Linked DNA regions of Homo sapiens: all the other regions are linked to region 1. The links are contacts of gene promoters, found by promoter capture Hi-C in human tissues and cell types (Jung and others, 2019). All regions are on one chromosome and are shown on one strand. The core of a region is centred on a gene start or on the middle of the fragment in contact, and the rest is flanking DNA. Distances in the headings are between cores, read along the strand shown. Region 1 holds the start of ZNF625-ZNF20 (ZNF625-ZNF20 readthrough (NMD candidate)). Region 2 overlaps ZNF69 (zinc finger protein 69). Region 3 overlaps ZNF763 (zinc finger protein 763). Region 4 overlaps ZNF563 (zinc finger protein 563).

What was found. Contacts are between HindIII fragments. The study calls those that stand out against the background at their distance.
Region 2: a fragment that was not itself captured here is called in contact with the fragment with the promoter of ZNF625-ZNF20 in region 1 in 1 of the 25 tissues and cell types used here (stomach).
Region 3: a fragment that was not itself captured here is called in contact with the fragment with the promoter of ZNF625-ZNF20 in region 1 in 1 of the 25 tissues and cell types used here (H1 embryonic stem cells).
Region 4: a contact is called between a fragment that was not itself captured here and the fragment with the promoter of ZNF625-ZNF20 in region 1, in 3 of the 25 tissues and cell types used here (hippocampus, lymphoblastoid cells and mesenchymal stem cells).

Annotation. Positions count from the first base shown.
Region 1 is chr19:12,154,683-12,158,885 of GRCh38, reverse strand. ZNF625-ZNF20 (ZNF625-ZNF20 readthrough (NMD candidate)) reads left to right here and starts at 2,155. Exons shown (of 8, transcript NR_037802.1): 1 at 2,155-2,330. ZNF625 (zinc finger protein 625) reads left to right here and starts at 2,152. Exons shown (of 4, transcript NM_145233.4): 1 at 2,152-2,330. The coding sequence starts at 2,328. RefSeq lists enhancers at 2,126-2,235, 1,798-2,489 and a silencer at 2,466-2,635. The HindIII fragment of the contact is 11,402 bases long and covers 1-4,203 here.
Region 2 is chr19:11,906,063-11,910,265 of GRCh38, reverse strand. ZNF69 (zinc finger protein 69) reads right to left here. Exons shown (of 4, transcript NM_001364730.1): 4 at 3,570-4,203. The coding sequence ends at 4,168. Among named protein-coding and RNA genes, the nearest start is that of ZNF700, 17 kb to the left of the region's middle. The HindIII fragment of the contact is 5,350 bases long and covers 1-4,203 here.
Region 3 is chr19:11,980,222-11,984,424 of GRCh38, reverse strand. ZNF763 (zinc finger protein 763) reads right to left here. Exons shown (of 4, transcript NM_001367172.2): 4 at 3,808-4,203. It also overlaps a transcript of ZNF69 not described here. Among named protein-coding and RNA genes, the nearest start is that of ZNF433-AS1, 5.3 kb to the left of the region's middle. The HindIII fragment of the contact is 4,224 bases long and covers 63-4,203 here.
Region 4 is chr19:12,314,008-12,318,210 of GRCh38, reverse strand. ZNF563 (zinc finger protein 563) reads left to right here. Exons shown (of 4, transcript NM_145276.3): 4 at 1-734. Among named protein-coding and RNA genes, the nearest start is that of ZNF563, 18 kb to the left of the region's middle. The HindIII fragment of the contact is 6,161 bases long and covers 1-4,203 here.

The DNA.
Region 1 (4,203 bases), core at 906-3,405:
GTTCACTGCAACCTCCATCTCCCGGGTTCAAGCGATTCTCCTGCCTCGGCCTCCTGAGTAGCTGGGATTACAGGCGTGTGCCACCACGCCCGGCTAATTTTTGTATTTTTAGTAGAGACGGGGTTTCACCATGTTGGTCAGGCTGGTCTCGAACTCCTGACTTCGTGATCCGCCCGCCTCGGCCTCCCAAAGTGCTGGGATTACAGGCGTGAGCCACCGCGCCCAGCCGGCAGCAATATTTTATAAAGGAATCAAAAGAAAAGTAAAGCAAACATTTGAAGTAGTTCAGATAAGCAGCCTGCTTCATGCACAGTTCACAAGGAAAACCCTCTGTCAGAAGGTAAATGATATTTCCAAGCTTGGAAGCCAAACTGTGACTGCTGAAATGGAGCCCCCCAGGGCGGGTCAGTCCCAGATGATGAGGCAGAGAAAATTAAGGATTTATCTGGGAGTTTGAAATGCCCTTCTGTCCCCTCCTCAGTTTAGAAATTATTCTCTCCTTTAAGACCTTCATTTTCACCAACAGGAAGCTCTCGACTTGAGTCAGTTTAAGCTAAATTTACTGTTAAATTCATAAACCCGCAGGGCGCGGTGGCTCACGCCTGTAATCCCAGCACTTTGGGAAGCCGAGGCGGACGGATCACGAGGTCAGGAGATCGAGACAATCCTGGCTAACACGGTGAAACCCCGTCTCTACTAAAAATACAAAAAATTAGCCGGGCGTGGTGGCAGGCGCCTGTAGTCCCAGCTACTTGGGAGGTTGAGGCAGGAGAATGGCATGAACCCGGGCGGGAGGCGGAGCTTGCAGTGAGCCGAGATTGCGCCACTGCACTCCAGCCCGGACGACAGAGCGAGACTCCGTCTCAAAAAAAATGATAATAAATACAATAAAATAAAATAATAAATAAAAATTCATAAACCCTTTCTCCAGGAGGCATCCCAAATGGGTCTTGCTCTAATTCTGACCTTCACAGATTTTCTTTTTCTTTTTCTTTCTTTTTTTTTTTTGAGACAGTCTAGCCCTGTCGCCCAGGCTGGAGTGCAGTGGCGCAATCTCGGCTCACTGCAAGCTCCGCCTCCCGGGTTCACGCCATTCTCCTGCCTCAGCCTCCCGAGTAGCTGGGACTATAGGCGCCCGCCACCGCACCCGACTAATTTTTTGTATTTTTAGTAGAGACGGGGCTTCTCCGTGTTAGCCAGGATGGTCTTGATTTCCTGACCTCGTGATCCGCCCGCGTCGGCCTCCCAAAGTGCTGGGATTATAGGCGTGAGCCACCGCTCCCGGCCGTAAAGATTTTTAAATAATAAAAACAGGGGTCTAGGGTGGGGGGATGTGGGAGGGATAACATTAGGAGATATACCTAATGTAAATGACGAGTTAATGGGTACAGCACACCAACATGGCGCATGTATACATATGTAACAAACCTGCACATTGTGCGCATGTACCCTAGAACTTAAAGTTTAATAAATAAAAATTAAAAAAAAAAAACAACAAAACAGGGGTATTCTTGTGTTGACCAAGTTGGTCTTTAACTCTTTACTTTAAGGGATCCTCCAGTCTTGGCCTCCCAAAGTGCTAGGATTACAGGCGTGAACCACCGCACCCTGCCTGTGTTCAGGTCACAATCTCTTCTAGCTTGGATAAAGGGAAAGAAATAAAGGGGGAGAGGGCATGGTTTCATCAATGGAGATTCTCTGCAGATGCAAATTCCCCCCCTCCAAAGACAGCTTTGCCAGTCCACTTTTTTTTGCGGCCGAGCCACAGCCATTTCAAAATCTGTCAAATAAATATATTTTGGCGTAAAATATTTTAATTTCCTTCACCTCCACTGGACTCTGAGTCTGGAATTTCCTGTGCAAGACAAAGGAGCAGGGACAGCCCATTGAGTGAGGAAGACAACGGTACCCCCTCTAGCAATTCGGAGCAAATTTGGCTGAAATGCAAATACCCAAAGAGCAAGACGCAGGGAGGGAGCTCGCTTAGATAATCTGTGGTTGGAACAGGTCATTTCGGTTCTGCCGGGCCTTGTTACCCAGGGCTTCCGCTGTCACTCAGGACCGATGGGACGGGGACTGGAGCCTCATCCAATCAGGGGCGCTGGGGCGGGGTCCTGCCAACTGTCCATCCGGGGAAGGGGAGGCCGCATTCCCGCTTTCCTGACTCCCAGGCGTCTTGCACCAAAGGGAGGTCGGGATCTCGGTTTTCCGGCCCCGAGAGGGACCAGGTGCCTCCGCCATAGCTTCTGTCGCTCCATCGCCCGCACTGTGACTGGACTGTTAGAGGGATCCGTGGAGAGGAGGCCAGGACACCTGGAAGCCGGGAAATGGTGAGTGTGCGGGGCCGGGGGTCCCGAGACGGGGGAGGGGCCGGGAGGAACCGGCTCGAACCGGCTCTAGCAGGACCCAGGCCTTCCTGCAGCGACTTCGGGTCTGCAGAGCGGAGTCCCCCTGGCGTAGCTCGGCCCTCGGTCCCTTCGGCCGCAGGGTGGGGTTGGGCCGGCAGCCGGGACCCCAGGCGTCCTGTCCCGTCTCTGCGCTGCGACTGCGACCCCGGCCCTGGCCCCGGCCCCGGAGCCCTCTCTGGGGAGCTCCGCGCCCGTAGTCCCGCGTCTCCCCAGATTGTGCGGAGACCACGGGAGGGTCATGGAGGCAATCCTGCCTCGGGTGTGTGGTTCGTGTGGGAGGAGCGGTGGGCTGCGGGGTCCCCAGTCCCCCCTTTTTTCCTGAAAAACTAAATTGAAGGCCAGGCGCAGTGGGTCACGCCTGGCAGGTTGAGGCGGGGGGATTGCTTCAGCCCAGAAATTCGAGACCAGCCTAGGCAACATACCGAGACCCTAGTTTCTATTAAAAATAAATTTTTAAAAAATGAGCCGGGCGTGGTGCCGCCCACCTGTAATCCCAGCTACTGGGGGGCTGAGGTGGGAGGATCGCTTGAGGGAGGAGATTGGGACTGCAGTGAGCCGAGATCGCGCCACTGCACTCCAGCCTGGGCGACTGAGCGAGACCCTGTCTCAAACAAAACAAAACAAAAACAACAGCAACAAACTAAACTGAGTCCTCTTAAAAATTAAAGAGTTTTGCTTCTCAGAATAGGAGTTTGAAAAAAATGAATGAGAAATGTTTCCTGAATGAGAAACACCCAGTCATGGCTTGCAGTTTGATAACGGAAAGAGCAAAACTCTGCAAAATAACTTGAACTATGTTCTACGCCGAATATGAGAGAACGTGACCAAGGGAAACAACCGCATGTAGCCTCGAGTAAGTGGTCCCCAGGAGGTTCGATGGCAGTTTGGTTTTATTCATTTCAGCGAGACAGGAATTGCAGGGAAAAGATCAATCAAGGCATGGAAGGCTGACAGGGCAGGACACGTAGAAGCGGGGCTTAGAAGGCACAGGTGGTTGAGGGATTCTGTAGTTGGCAGTTGGCTGAGAGTGTGAAGTTGTGTCTAAAATTTGAAAGGGGTAGGAAGGAATGTTTAAGTGAAGGGAGTCTGTTACCTGCCACGTGATTCCATCCCCACCAAAAAACAGATATGTTTCACTAGATTTTATGAATTCTAAGGCGTGACTTTACCCTTGCCTTGCATGGCCTTAGGTCTTGTTTGCAATTTAGTATTTATTGGTACAAAGGGTTTCTTTGCAGGTTTTTTTTTTTTTTTGAGATGGAGCCTCACTCTCGCCCAGGCTGGAGTGCAGTGGCGCAATCTCGGCTTACGGCAACCTCCGCCTCCTAGGTTCAAGCAATTCTCCTGCCTCAGCCTCCCAAGTAGCTGGAATTACAGGTGCACGCCACCATACCCGGCTAATTTCTGTATTTTTAGTAGAGATGGGGTTTCACCATGTTGGCCAAGCTGGTCTCAAACTCCTGACCTCAAATAATCCGCCTGCCTCCGCCTCCCTCCGCCTCCCAAAGTGCTAGGATTACAGGACTGAGCCACTGTGCCCGGCCTCTTTGCAGGTCTTATGTCTATTTTAATATGAATGTGGGTCAGTTGCTGTGTCTAAACTCCAGAAGGGAGTATGGAGTGTCTGATCTCCCTTACTAATGTAACTGGGAACTTTCAGGTTTTTGGGGGGCCTCCCCTTGGTAAAGAGCCACTCAGTTGACTTGATTGGGGTGGGATGGGGAGCTTAGGTTTTTATTTTTAGTTTACAGGTTGAAGGATAGGCTTTTATATGGTGCATTAGAATAAAAATCAA
Region 2 (4,203 bases), core at 728-3,227, 250 kb after region 1:
GAATCTACAAATTACCTTGGGCAGTATGGCCATTTTCATGATATTGATTCTTCCTATCCACGAGCATGGAATGTTCTTCCATTTGTTTGTGTCCTCTTTGATTTCGTTGAGCAGTGGTTTGTAGTTCTCTTTGAAGAGGTCCTTCACATCCCTTGTAAGTTGGATTCCTAGGTATTTTATTCTCTTTGAAGCAATTGTGAATGGGAGTTCACTCATGATTTGGCTCTCTGTTTGTCTGTTGTTGGTGTATAGGAATGCTTGTGATTTTTGCACATTGATTTTGTATCCTGAGACTTTGCTGAAGTTGCTTATCAGCTTAAGGAGATTTTGGGCTGAGATGATAGGGTTTTCTAAATATACAATCATGTCATCTGCAAACAGGGACAATTTGACTTCCTCTTTTCCTACTTGAATACCCTTTAGTTCTTTGTCCTTCCTGATTGCCCTGGCCAGAACTTCCAACACTATGTTGAATAGGAGTGGTGAGAGAGGGCATCCCTGTCTTGTGCCAGTTTTCAAAGGGAATGCTTCCAGTTTTTGCCCATTCAGTATATGATATTGACTGTAGGTTTGTCATAAATAGCTCTTATTATTTTGAGATACATCCCATCAATACCCAGTTTATTGAGAGTTTTTAGCATAAAGGGCTGTGGAATTTTGTCGAAGGCCTTTTCTGCATCTATTCAGATAATCTTGTGGTTTTTGTCTTTGGTTCTGTTTATATGATGGATTACGTTTATTGCTTTGCATATGTTGAATCAGCCTTGCATCCCAGGGATGAAGCCAACTTGATCGTGGTGGATAAGCTTTTTGATGTGCTGCTGGATTTGGTTTGCCAGTATTTTATTGAGGATTTTTGCATCGATGTTCATCAGGTATATTGGTCTAAAATTCTTTTTGTTGTGTCTCTGCCAGGCTTTGGTATCAGGATGTTGCTGGCCTCATAAAATGAGTTAGGGAGGATTCCCTCTTTTTCTATTGATTGGAATAGTTTAAGAAGGAATGGTACTAGCTCCTCTTTGTACCTCTGGTAGAATTCAGCTGTGAATCCATCTGGTCCTTGACTTTTTTTGGTTGGTAGTCTATTAATTATTGCCTCAATTTCAGAGCCTGTTATTGGTCTATTCAGGGATTCGACTTCTTCCTGGTTTAGTCTTGGGAGGGTGTATGTGTCCAGGAATTTATCCATTTCTTCTAGATTTTCTAGTTTATTTCCATAGAGGTATTTATAGTACTCTCTGATGGTAGTTTGTATTTCTGTGGGATCGGTGGTGATATCCCCTTTATCATTTTTTATTGCATCTATTTGATTCTTCTCTCTTTTCTTCTTTATTAGTCTTGCTGGCGGTCTATCAATTTTGTTGATCTTTTCAAAAAAACAGCTCCTGGATTCACTGATTTTTTGAAGGGTTTTTTCTGTCTCTGTCTCCTTCAGTTCTGCTCTGATCTTAGTTATTTCTTGCCTTCTGCTAGCTTTTGAATGTGTTTGCTCTTGCCTCTCTAGTTCTTTTAATTGTGATGTTAGGGTGTCAATTTTACATCTTTCCTGCTTTCTCCTGTGGGCATTTAGTGCTATAAATTTCCCTCTACAAACTGCTTTAAATGTGTCCCAGAGATTCTGGTATGTTGTGTCTTTGTTCTCATTGGTTTCAAAGAACATCTTTATTTCTGCCTTCATTTGTTATGTACCCAGTAGTCATTCAGGAGCAGGTTGTTCAGTTTCCATGTATTTGAGTGGTTTAGAGTGAGTTTCTTAATCCTGAGTTCTAGTTTGATTGCTCTGTGGTCCGAGAGACAGTTTGTTATAATTTCTATTCTTCTACATTTGCTGAGGAGTGCTTTACTTCCAACTATGTGGTCAATTTTGGAATAAGTGTGATGTGGTGCTGAGAAGAATGTATATTCTGTTGATTTGGGGTGGAGAGTTCTGTAGATGTCTATTAGGTCCTCTTGGTGCAGAGCTGAGTTCAATTCCTGTATATCCTTGTTAACTTTCTGTCTCATTGATCTGTCTAATGTTGACAGTGGGATGTTAAAGTCTCCCATTATTATTGTGTGGGAGTCTAAGTCTCTTTGTAGGTCTCTAAGGACTTGCTTTATGCATCTCAGTGCTCCTGTATTGGGTGCATAAATATTTAGGATAGTTAGCTCTTCTTGTTGAATTGATCCCTTTACCTTTATGTAATGGCCTTGTCTCTTTTGATCTTTGTTGGTTTAAAGTCTGTTTTATCAGAGACTAGGATTGCAACCCCTGCTTTTTTTGTTTGTTTTCCATTTGCTTGGTAGATCTTCCTCCATCCCTTTATTTTGAGCCTATGTATGTCTCTGCACGTGAGATGGGTCTCCTGAATACAGCACACTGATGGGTCTTGATTCTTTATCCAATTTGCCAGTCTGTGTCTTTTAATTGGAGCATTTAGCCCATTTACATTGAAGGTTAATATTGTTATGTGTGAATTTGATCCAGTCATTATGATGTTAACTGGTTATTTTGCTCGTTAGTTGATACAGTTTCTTCCTAGCCTCAATGGTCTTTACAATTTGGCATGTTTTTGCAGTGGCTGGTACCGGTTGTTCCTTTCCATGTTTAGTGCTTCCTTCAGGAGATCTTTTACAGCAGGCCTGGTGGTGACAAAATCTCTCAGCATTTGAATCTGTAAAGGATTTTATTTCTCCTTCACTTATGAAGCTTAGTATGGCTGGATATGAAATTCTGGGTTGAAAATTCTTTCCTTTAAGAATGTTGAATATTGGCCCCCACTCTTTTCTGGCTTGTAGAGTTTCTGCCAAGAGATCCGCTGTTAGTCTGACGGGCTTCCCTTTGTGGGTAACCCGACCTTTCTCTCTGGCTGCCCTTAACATTTTTTCCTTCATTTCAACTTTGGTGAATCTGACAATTATGTGTCTTGGAGTTGCTCCTCTCGAGGAGTATCTTTGTGGCGTTCTCTGTATTTCCTGAATTTGAATGTTGGTCTGCCTTGCTAGGTTGGGGAAGTTCTCCTGAATAATATCCTGAAGAGTGTTTCCCAACTTGGTTCCATCCCTGTCACTTTCAGGTACACCAATCAGACATAGATTTGGTCTTTTCACATAGTCCCATATTTCTTGGAGGCTTTTTCATTTCTTTTTACTCTTTTTTCTCTAAACTTCTCTTCTCACTTCATTTCATCCATTTGATCTTCAATTACTGATACCTTTTCTTCCACTTGATTGAATCAGCTACTGAAGCTTGTGCATGCATCACATAGTTCTCGTGCCATGGTTTTCAGCTCCATCGGGTCATTTAAGGTCTTCTCTACACTGTTTATTCTAGTTAGCCATTTTGTCTAATCTTTTTTCAAGGTTTTTAGCTTCTTTGTGATGGGTTCGAACATCCTCCTTTAGCTTGGAGAAGTTTGTTATTACCGATCATCTGAAGCCTTCTTCTCTCAGCTCGTCAAAGTCAAAGTCCAGCTTTGTTCCATTGCTGGCGAGGAGCTGCGTTCCTTTGGAGGAGAAGAGGCGCTCTGATGTTTAGAATTTTCAGCTTTTCTGCTCTGGTTTCTCCCCATCTTTGTGGTTTTATCTACTTTTGGTCTTTGATGATGGTGATGTACAGATGGGTTTTGGTGTGGTTGTCCTTTCTGTTTGTTAGTTTTCCTTCTAACAGTCAGGACCCTCAGCTGAGGTCTGTTGGATTTTGCTTGAGGTCCACTCCAGACCCTGTTTGCCTGGGTATCACCAGCAGGGGCTGCAGAACAGCAAATATTGCAGAACGGCAAATGTTGTTGCCTGATCCTTCCTCTGGAAGCTTCGTCACAGAGGGGCACACGGCCGTATGAGGTGTCAGTTGGCCCCTACTGGGAAGTGCCTCCCAGTTAGGCTACTTGGAGATCAGGGACCCACTTGAGGAGGCAGACTGTCCATTCTTAGATCTCAAACTCCATGCTGGGAGGACTGCTACTCTCTTCAAAGCTGTCAGACAGGGACATTTAAGTCTGCAGAAGTTTCTGCTGCCTTTTGTTCAGCTATCCAGAATGCATTCTTATGTGTGCTTGTGTCCTTTACTGAATTCGAAGGTTCTGGGCAGACCTGAAGGGTTTCCCACATTCTTTACATTCATGGTTTCTCTTGATTGTGTGTCCTACCATGCATTCAAAGGTGTGAGGCAGATCTGAAGGCTTTCCCTCATTGCTTACACTCATAGGGTTTATCTTCAGGGTG
Region 3 (4,203 bases), core at 925-3,424, 170 kb after region 1:
GCCCACGTGTGATACAATTCTTCCAGTATACCAAGGCAAGAACCTTAGGATACAGAAAGCCCTCTGTCCTTGTGATAAGGCAGGGGTCTAATTGAGCATGGTTCATGGTAGCTTGGAATTCCTGGGCTCAAGCCATCCTCCTGCCTCAGCCTCCCAAATAGCAGGAACTACAGGCAAGTGCCACCATGCGCAGCTAACATTTTTTGTTAATGAGGTGATGTATCACCATGTTGCCTTGGCTGGTCTCACTCCTAGCCTCAAGCAATCATCTGGCTTTGGTCTCCCAAAGGGCTGGGAGTAGAGGTGTGAGCCACTGTGCCTAGCCTATGTCACATTTAAATATTATGTTTTTAGAGAAAATTTTCTAAGAGTAAATAAATGTGATGCTGGTCTTATTTCTTTTATTTGCATATTTTAAACATTTTCAGCCGGGCACAATGGCTCACGCCTGTAATTGCAGCACTTTGGGAGGCCAAGCCAGGCGGATCACCTGAGGACAGGAGTTCGAGACCAGCCCGACCAACATGGAGTAACCCCATCTCTACTAAAAATTCAAAATTAGCCAGACGTGGTGGTGGGCGCCTGTAATCCCAGCTACTTGGGAGGCTGAGGCAGGAGAATCACTTGAACCTGGGAGGCGGAGGTTGCGATGAGCCGCGATTGAGCCATTGCACTCCAGTCTGGGCAACAAGAGTGAAACTCTTGTCTCCAAAAAAACCAAAACATTTTCAGGCAGTATAAGATTTTCTAGAGAGAGAATGCTTTATCTTGTGAGGGAAACTTACCTTAGATTATTCCTGAGATTTTTGTACTGATCTTCAATGATCTGGTCTTTCCATTTTTTTCTTAAAATACAGATCCATAAAAAATAGTCCTGATTATAAAATTATGGGGTTTTTTTTGGAGATGAGGGTCTCACTCTATCACCCAGGCTGGAGTGCAATGGCATGATCACAGCTCACTGCAGCCTCAACCTCTTGGGTTCAGGTGATTCTCCTACTGCAGCCTCTCAAGTAGCTGGGATTACAGGTGCATGTCACCATCCTGGCTAAAAAGTTTGTAGAGATAGGGTTTCACCATGTTGCCCAGGCTGTTCTCAGACTCCTGGGTTCAAGTCATCCACCCACCTTGGCCTCTCAAAGTGCTAGAACCACAGGCATGAGCCACCATGCCCAGCTATTATAAAATTAGTTTAAAAATTATTAGATTCTATGTTCATGGCTCACTGCAGCCATTCCTGATTTATCAAAGTTTTCCCTGTCCATATTCCAAATCACTGAACAGCACTGAAGAGCTAGAAACACTTGTTCTTTAATAAACTGAGGGAAGTAATATTGTCACGTGATAGTTTGAATGTATGTTCCCACCCAATGTCATGAGGAACTGCAATCCCCAGTGTTGGAGGTGAGTCCTGATGGGAGTTGTTTGGGTCAGGGGGACCTATGGCTTGTTTCTCTCATGGCTTGTTGCTGTCTTTGTGATAATCAGTGAGTTCTAGTGAGCTGCACCTTCCTACACCACTCTCTCTGTCTCACTCCTGCTTTCGCCATGTGACTGCCTGCTCCCCGTTCACCTTCCGCTATGATTGAAAGCTTCCTGAGGCCTTCACCAGAAGCTGAGCAGATGCTGGTGCCATGCTTCCTTTACAGGCAGATGCCAGGCAGACGTCACTGTGAATCACTGTGCCCAGCAATGAATAATTCTTTACAAGGGGACAAACCCTGTCTGGACATGGTGACTCATGCCTGGAATCCTAGCACTTTGGGAGACTGAGCTGTGAGGACTGCTTGAGACAAAGAATTAGAGAACAGCCTGGGCAACACAGCATAATCCTGACTCTATTACTTAAAATTCTAAATAAAAGTCTGAAAAGCAGCATTTCCCACCTATTCTCTCTGAGGGAGCCTTCATCTACATAACAAGGTCTCCTTTGCTAGCCAAGCTTCTTCCTTTCCTTTAGCATAATCTGTCTTGCCATTAAAAATGACTTCCCCACCAAACCTGGAATTTTTTTGGCCATGCCAAGTCTGCATTTTTCCTGGCCTCAGAATGGTATGTAAGCTTTTTTGTCTTATTGTTGGGTGGGTCCTCATTCTGAAGGCTCCCATATATACATGTTAAATAAATTTGTATGACTTTTCTCCTATTAATTCGCCTAAGTTCCTTGATCTGAAAATTTTTTTCCTGTTTTCTCACCTTATTTTATTAAAAAAAGTTCAAAAACAAGCATATCTAAAAATGAGCATTTTCATATCCCAGAAATCAAGGTATTTTCCATAGATAACCAGAAAATGCTATTTAGTAATTGCCTAACATCAACACAGAGTGATATTAAAACCTTATTGTGTAAAGTGGAATTCTGGAAGCTTAGCTTTGAATACATTTCATTTTGTCTGTGAAACATTGAAGAGTGTGTGTGGTGTTATGATATGTATTGGTTTTCATCCAGGGTAATAATGTTGGGTGTGTTAGACCTCTGGGGAAGGCCCCTGACCTGCTGCCCTCTTTCCACTCTAATGTTTCCCCACCTTTTTGATTGTGGGTCTTAAAACCCTCCCATGAGAGGGTCCCACTGACTTCATGAAGACTTTTAGCCTTGGAAATACTCGTGATATTCCCTATCTGTAGCTGTGTGTCTGAAGTTAGCTCAGAATAAACCACAAGTGTGTAGATTGCTAAAATAACTTACTTCTAAACACTGAAACTCAAAAACTGCAGATTTCTTTGTCTAAGCAGATGCAGAAAAGCAGAAGTTATAAAGCATCCGGACTCAAACAGGCACCATCACTGCCTTCTAAAATTAGTAGCCTTCCTGGCATATGAACACCCTTTGGGCCTGTGCTCCAGTGTCTCTTTGGGTTGGTCCTTGGGCTTTTTGTGAAACATCAAGACACCTCCATAGTCTAGGCCAATGTCAGGCTCTCCAGTGTGTCCTGTTCATCACCCTCACCCTGCACTTTCATTGTCACTGTCATTGGCCATTCCAACATTGTGCTTGCATCCTGTGGAAAGTCACATTTGGGGTCAAGTGGATGGTGTTGTTTCTACTGTTTGGTTAAAAGTGTCAGGGTGTATTTGGCCTTCAAGGGAGGATAAGGCAGGGGTTGGATTCAGGTGCACCCAACTCTTGTTTTTTTCATTTTGAGACAGAGTCTTGCTCTGTCGACTAGGTTGGAGAGTGCAATGGTGTGATCTCAGTTCAGTGTAACAACCACCTCCCAGGCTCAAGCGATTCTCCTGCCTCAGCCTCCTGAGTATCTGGGATTACAGGGATTACACCACGATGCCCAGCTAATTTATCTATTTCTTAAGGTTTCACCATGTTGGCCAGGCTGGTCTTGAACTCCTGACCTCAAGTGATCCACTCTCCTTGGCCTCCCAAAGTGCTAAGATTACAGGTGTGAGCCACCGTACCTGCTCAGGTGCCCCCACCTCTGTCACTGCCCTGTCTTCCCTGCTGTGAATCATGCTGTGTGATCTGACAATCAATGATTCCACCCTTCACTGATGTGGATACATTATCTGGGACTGGGTATGTCATCTCCACACACAGACAGGGTTTGGTCAGTGATTGATGCTGCATCCCGTGATGCCTGGACTTTGACCTTAGGGAGTTTTAAATAAGCGTTTCTGAAGAGCAGCTTCATTGGAACCTTAATGAAAATGAATTTTTCCATGCCATTGCATAACATATAAAAGTGACTTTTCCATGTTGCCATTAACTTTACATGGCTGAAATAAACAGGCTGTTGACAAGTTAGTATCAACAGCACATTATCAGAGAAAGAAAAGGCTGTATTTAGACAATTTACATTATTATTGTAATTTATTAGCTTCCTGTGACTCACTAAACCAACCTGAAAAAAATAGCTTTCTAAGGTATAAATGAATTTCTATGTTTTACCCAACGTACTTTCTGGTAAACAGCACCCATACATTTTATGAAATATTTTAGTCTTTAGAGAATAAGGCAAAAACAGCTCCAGGAGTCTAGAGCTGACATCCCCTCACCACAAGGCCAAGTCTTTTTTTTTTTTTTTTTTGAGACGGAGTTTTGCTCCTGTTGCCCAGGCTAGAGTGCAATGGCACAATCTTGGCTCACTGCAACCTCTGCCCCCCAGATTCAAGCGATTCTCCTGTGCCAGCCTCCCAACTAGCTAGGATTACAGAAGCAGGCCACCACGCCTGGCCAATTTTTGTAGT
Region 4 (4,203 bases), core at 809-3,308, 160 kb before region 1:
GGGCAAAATGGTGAAACCATGTCTCTACAAAAAATAGAAAAAGTAGCAGGTGTGGTGGTATGCCCCTGTAGTCCCAGCTACTTGGGAGGCTGAGGTGGGAAGATCTCTTGAGCCCAAGGGGTGGGGGTTGCAGTGAGCCAAGATGCACTGCACCCCAGCCTGGGCGACAGAGCCAGACCCTGTCTCAAAAAAAAAAAAAAAGTACATGAAAGGATTCACTCTGGAGAGAAGTCATATGAATGTAAGAAATGTAGAAAAGCATTGAGTTCTCTCAGGTCCTTGCATAGACATAAAAGGACTCACTGGAGAGATACTCTATAAATGTGTGAAATGTAGGGAAGTATTCTTTAATGTTATTTCATTTCAGATAGAAATAATTCTCATTGGAGATAAACCCTATGAATGTAAACACATAGTAAAGCCTTAATTTTAAGCCTCAGTTTCTTTCAAATACAGTTATCCCCTAATATTTGCAGGAGCGTGGTTCTACCACCCCCTGGGCATACATAAATCGACACATGCCAAGTCCTTTTTTAAAAATGACATATTTGGTACAAAATTACCCGGATGTGATGGCACATGCCTGTAATCCCAGCTACTCAGGAGGCTGAGGCAGGATAATCACTTGAATCCGGGAGGCGGAGGTTGCGGTGAGCCAAGATCGCGCCACTGCACTCCAGCCTGGGCAGCAAGAGCAAAACAACCTCTGTCACACACACAAAAAAAAAAAAAAAGGAAAGAAAGAAAAGACATATTTGGGTTAGACACAGTTGCTCACCTCTGTAATCCTAGCACCTTAGGAGCCCAAGACAGGTGGATCACTTGAGCCCAGGAGTTAGAGGCCAGCCTGGGTAATGTGGCAAAACCCTGTCTCTACAGAAGATACACAAATTAGCCAGGTGTGGTGACATGTACCTGTAGTCCCAGCTACTAGGGAAGCTGAGGTGGGAGGATCGCTTGAGCCTGGGAGGTTGAGGTTGCGGTGAGTCAAAATCACATCACTGCATTCTAGCATGGGCAACAGAATGAGACCCTGTCTCAAAAAAATAATAACAATAAAAAATATTTGCATGTAACCTACCCACATCCTCCTGTATACTCTAAATCATCTGTAGATTAGTTAAAATACATCATGCATCATAGAAGCTATGTAAATAGTTGTTATTATATTGTTTAGTGAATCATGATATGAGAAAGACCCTACACATATTCAGTACAGACCCACCCACATAATACATGTCACCTAGAGCATTATAAATCTTTTCTTTCAACACTCATAGATTGCTTTTGTTTAATGACCTGAAAATGTGTTAACATTCACCCAACAAAAGTGTAATGATGATTATTGCAATATCGTGCCTAATGTTGTGATGTGTTGAGTCAGCTAGATGTGTGACACCACAGATAAGCAGTGAGACCTCAGGCTAACTCGAATCTTGACAGGATGTCAACATGATCAACTATATTGGAAGAAACAGATTCTGACTGCAGATACTGAATTTTTGGAGCAGTCTAAATAATACTAATGTCAGAATCTGTTCAATTTGAGGACTGAAGATCTTTAAGCATTGAAGGCTGTCTTCATATTTGCAGATATTTAATTAGAAACATTGTAGGAAGCTAGTTTTTTTTTTTTTAAACTTTGCAACGTTTGTGAGCATGTAATCTCTGGGGTGACATGGAGGCTTTGTTCCATGGAAGAATCTTAATTGAGGATGATAATCTTTAACACTTGCGCCTTGTAGAAGCTGTAGGTGCCCTAAAACTGCTTCCAATTTTTCTTTTTTTTTCTTTTTCTTTTCTTTTTTTTTTTTTTTAAGACAAGATCTCACTCTGTCACCCTACAGTGCATGGCTCACTGCAGCCTCAACTTCCTGGGCTCAAGTGATCTTCCCACCTCAGCCTCCCAAGTAGCTGGGATTATAGGCACACATCACGATGCCTGGCTACTTTTTGTGTTTTTTGTGGAGACAAGGTTTCACCATGTTTCCCAGGCTGGTCTTGAACTCCTGGAATCAAGAGATCTGCCTGCCTTGGCCTCCCAAATTACTAGGATTACAGGGTGAGCCACCACACCCAGCCTTCAGATTTTTCAAGTATCAAAATCTATAGCACTGCTTCTTTTTTTTTTTTTCAGACAGAGTCTCACTCTGTCGCTGAGGCTGAAGTGCAGTGGTGCAATCTCAGCTCACTGCAGCCTCCACCTCCCAGGTTCAAGTGATCCTCCTGCATCAGCCACCTGAGGAGCTGGGATTACAATCTCAGCTCACTGCAACCTCCACCTCCCAAGTTCAAGTGATCCTCCTGCCTCAGCCACCCAAGTAGCTGGGAATACAGGCATGCACCACCATGCCCAGCTAATTTTTGTATTTTTAGTAGAGACAGGGTTTCGCCATGTTTGCCAAGCTGGTTTTGAACTCCCTGTGACTTCAAGTGATCTGCCTGCCTTGGCCTCTCAGAATGCTGGGATTACAGGCATGAGCCACCACTTATGGCACTGCCTCTTTATTTATTTATTGAGACTGAGTCTCACTCTGTCACCCAGGCTGGAGTGCAGTGGCACGATCTCGGCTCACTGCAAACACTGCCTCCTGGGTTCAAGCGATTCTCATGCCTCAGCCTCCCAAGTAGCTGGGATTACAGGTGCCCGCCACCACACCCAGCTAATTTTTGTATTTTTAGTAGAGACGGGGTTTCACCATGTTGGCCAGGCTGGTCTTAAACTCGTGACCTCAGGTGATTCACCCGCTTCGGCCTCCCAAACTGTTGGGATTACAGGCGTGAGCCACCACGCCTGGCGGCACTGCCTCTTCTAAATCTACATCATCATCATCATCATCTATAGAGGATTTCAGCATATCTTCTAGTTCCTTGTTAGTAAAGGTTTCTTCTTTGCTCTTCTGTGTGTTCCTCAACATTGTCTTCACTTGTGTCAGAGATAGCCTTCCCCACCAACTTTCCTTACATTTAAGATATTTCTGACTATCATATCGATAGTGCAGAAGCGCCTGAAATCATTGACTTCCTCACTCCATAATGGCTTCCAACACACTTTGGCTGTCTTGAGCTGTAGGGCATTTACAGCCTCCGCAATAAACACAATCGTTTCTGCAGTTGGGAAGCTCTTCCATAAATCCTGTATGACATGGTGAGGGTTATTATCAAGACAGCATAAATCCTTCCAAAAGTCCAGTGGGTGTAAGACACCTTGAGGCACTTGATGATGCTTTGATCAAGTAGTTGTAGCAGTGATGTAGTTTTAGGAGGCAGGAACATCACTTCCCCATTTTTATCGGCATAACAGAGAGAAGAGAGATGCCAGGAGCGTTGTCAGTTATGAGGAGGGCCTTGAGTGGCAGCCCCTTCTTTTCAAGGTATTCATTCACATCAGGAATGAAGCAGTGGTAGAACCAAGTCCTCGTGTGTTTTTGTCAGGACACGGGCAGGCAAGTTTCGCTTTTGTTTTCAAGGACCCACGGATTGTTTACTTAGTAGAGGAGGCTTTGTTTGATCTTATGACCTGCTGCATTGCCACGTAGCACCAGAGTAAGGCAATCTTTCCAAGTCATGAACCCCAAGGCTTTCTTTGTACTCTTGTGATGAAGGTACAATTGGGCATCCTCTTCCAGAACATGCCTGATTCATTACAATGGAGGATTTGCTCTGGAAGTTAGCCTCTTTTTTTTTTTTTTTTTTAATGAGTTTCATGAGCTTTTCTAGGAATGCTGATGTTTCCTTTGCATCAGCCAAGGCCAATTCTCCCATGTTCTTCAAGTTCTTGAAGCTCTAATGCATTGTGTAGCTAGCTAAGCCAGACCTTGCTGGCCTGAAACTCCTTCCTGTAGATCTTTTTTTTTTTTTTTGAGATGGAGTTTTGCTCTTGTTGCCCAGGCTGGAGTGCAATGGCGCTATCTTGGCTCACCACAATCTCTGCCTCCCAGGTTCAAGTGATTTCTTCTTCCTCAGCCTCCTGAGTAGCTGGGATTACAGGCATGTGCCACCACACCCAGCTAATTTTGTATTTTTAGTAGAGACAGGGTTTCTCCATATTGGTCAGGTTGGTCTCGAACCCCGTGATCCTCCCGCCTTGGCCTCCCAAAGTGCTGGGATTACAGGTGTGAGTCACCGTGCCCAGCCAAGGTAAATTCTATCTTATGTGAATTTTGGCACCATGAGAAAATGGCGGGGGGGGGAAGCCACAGA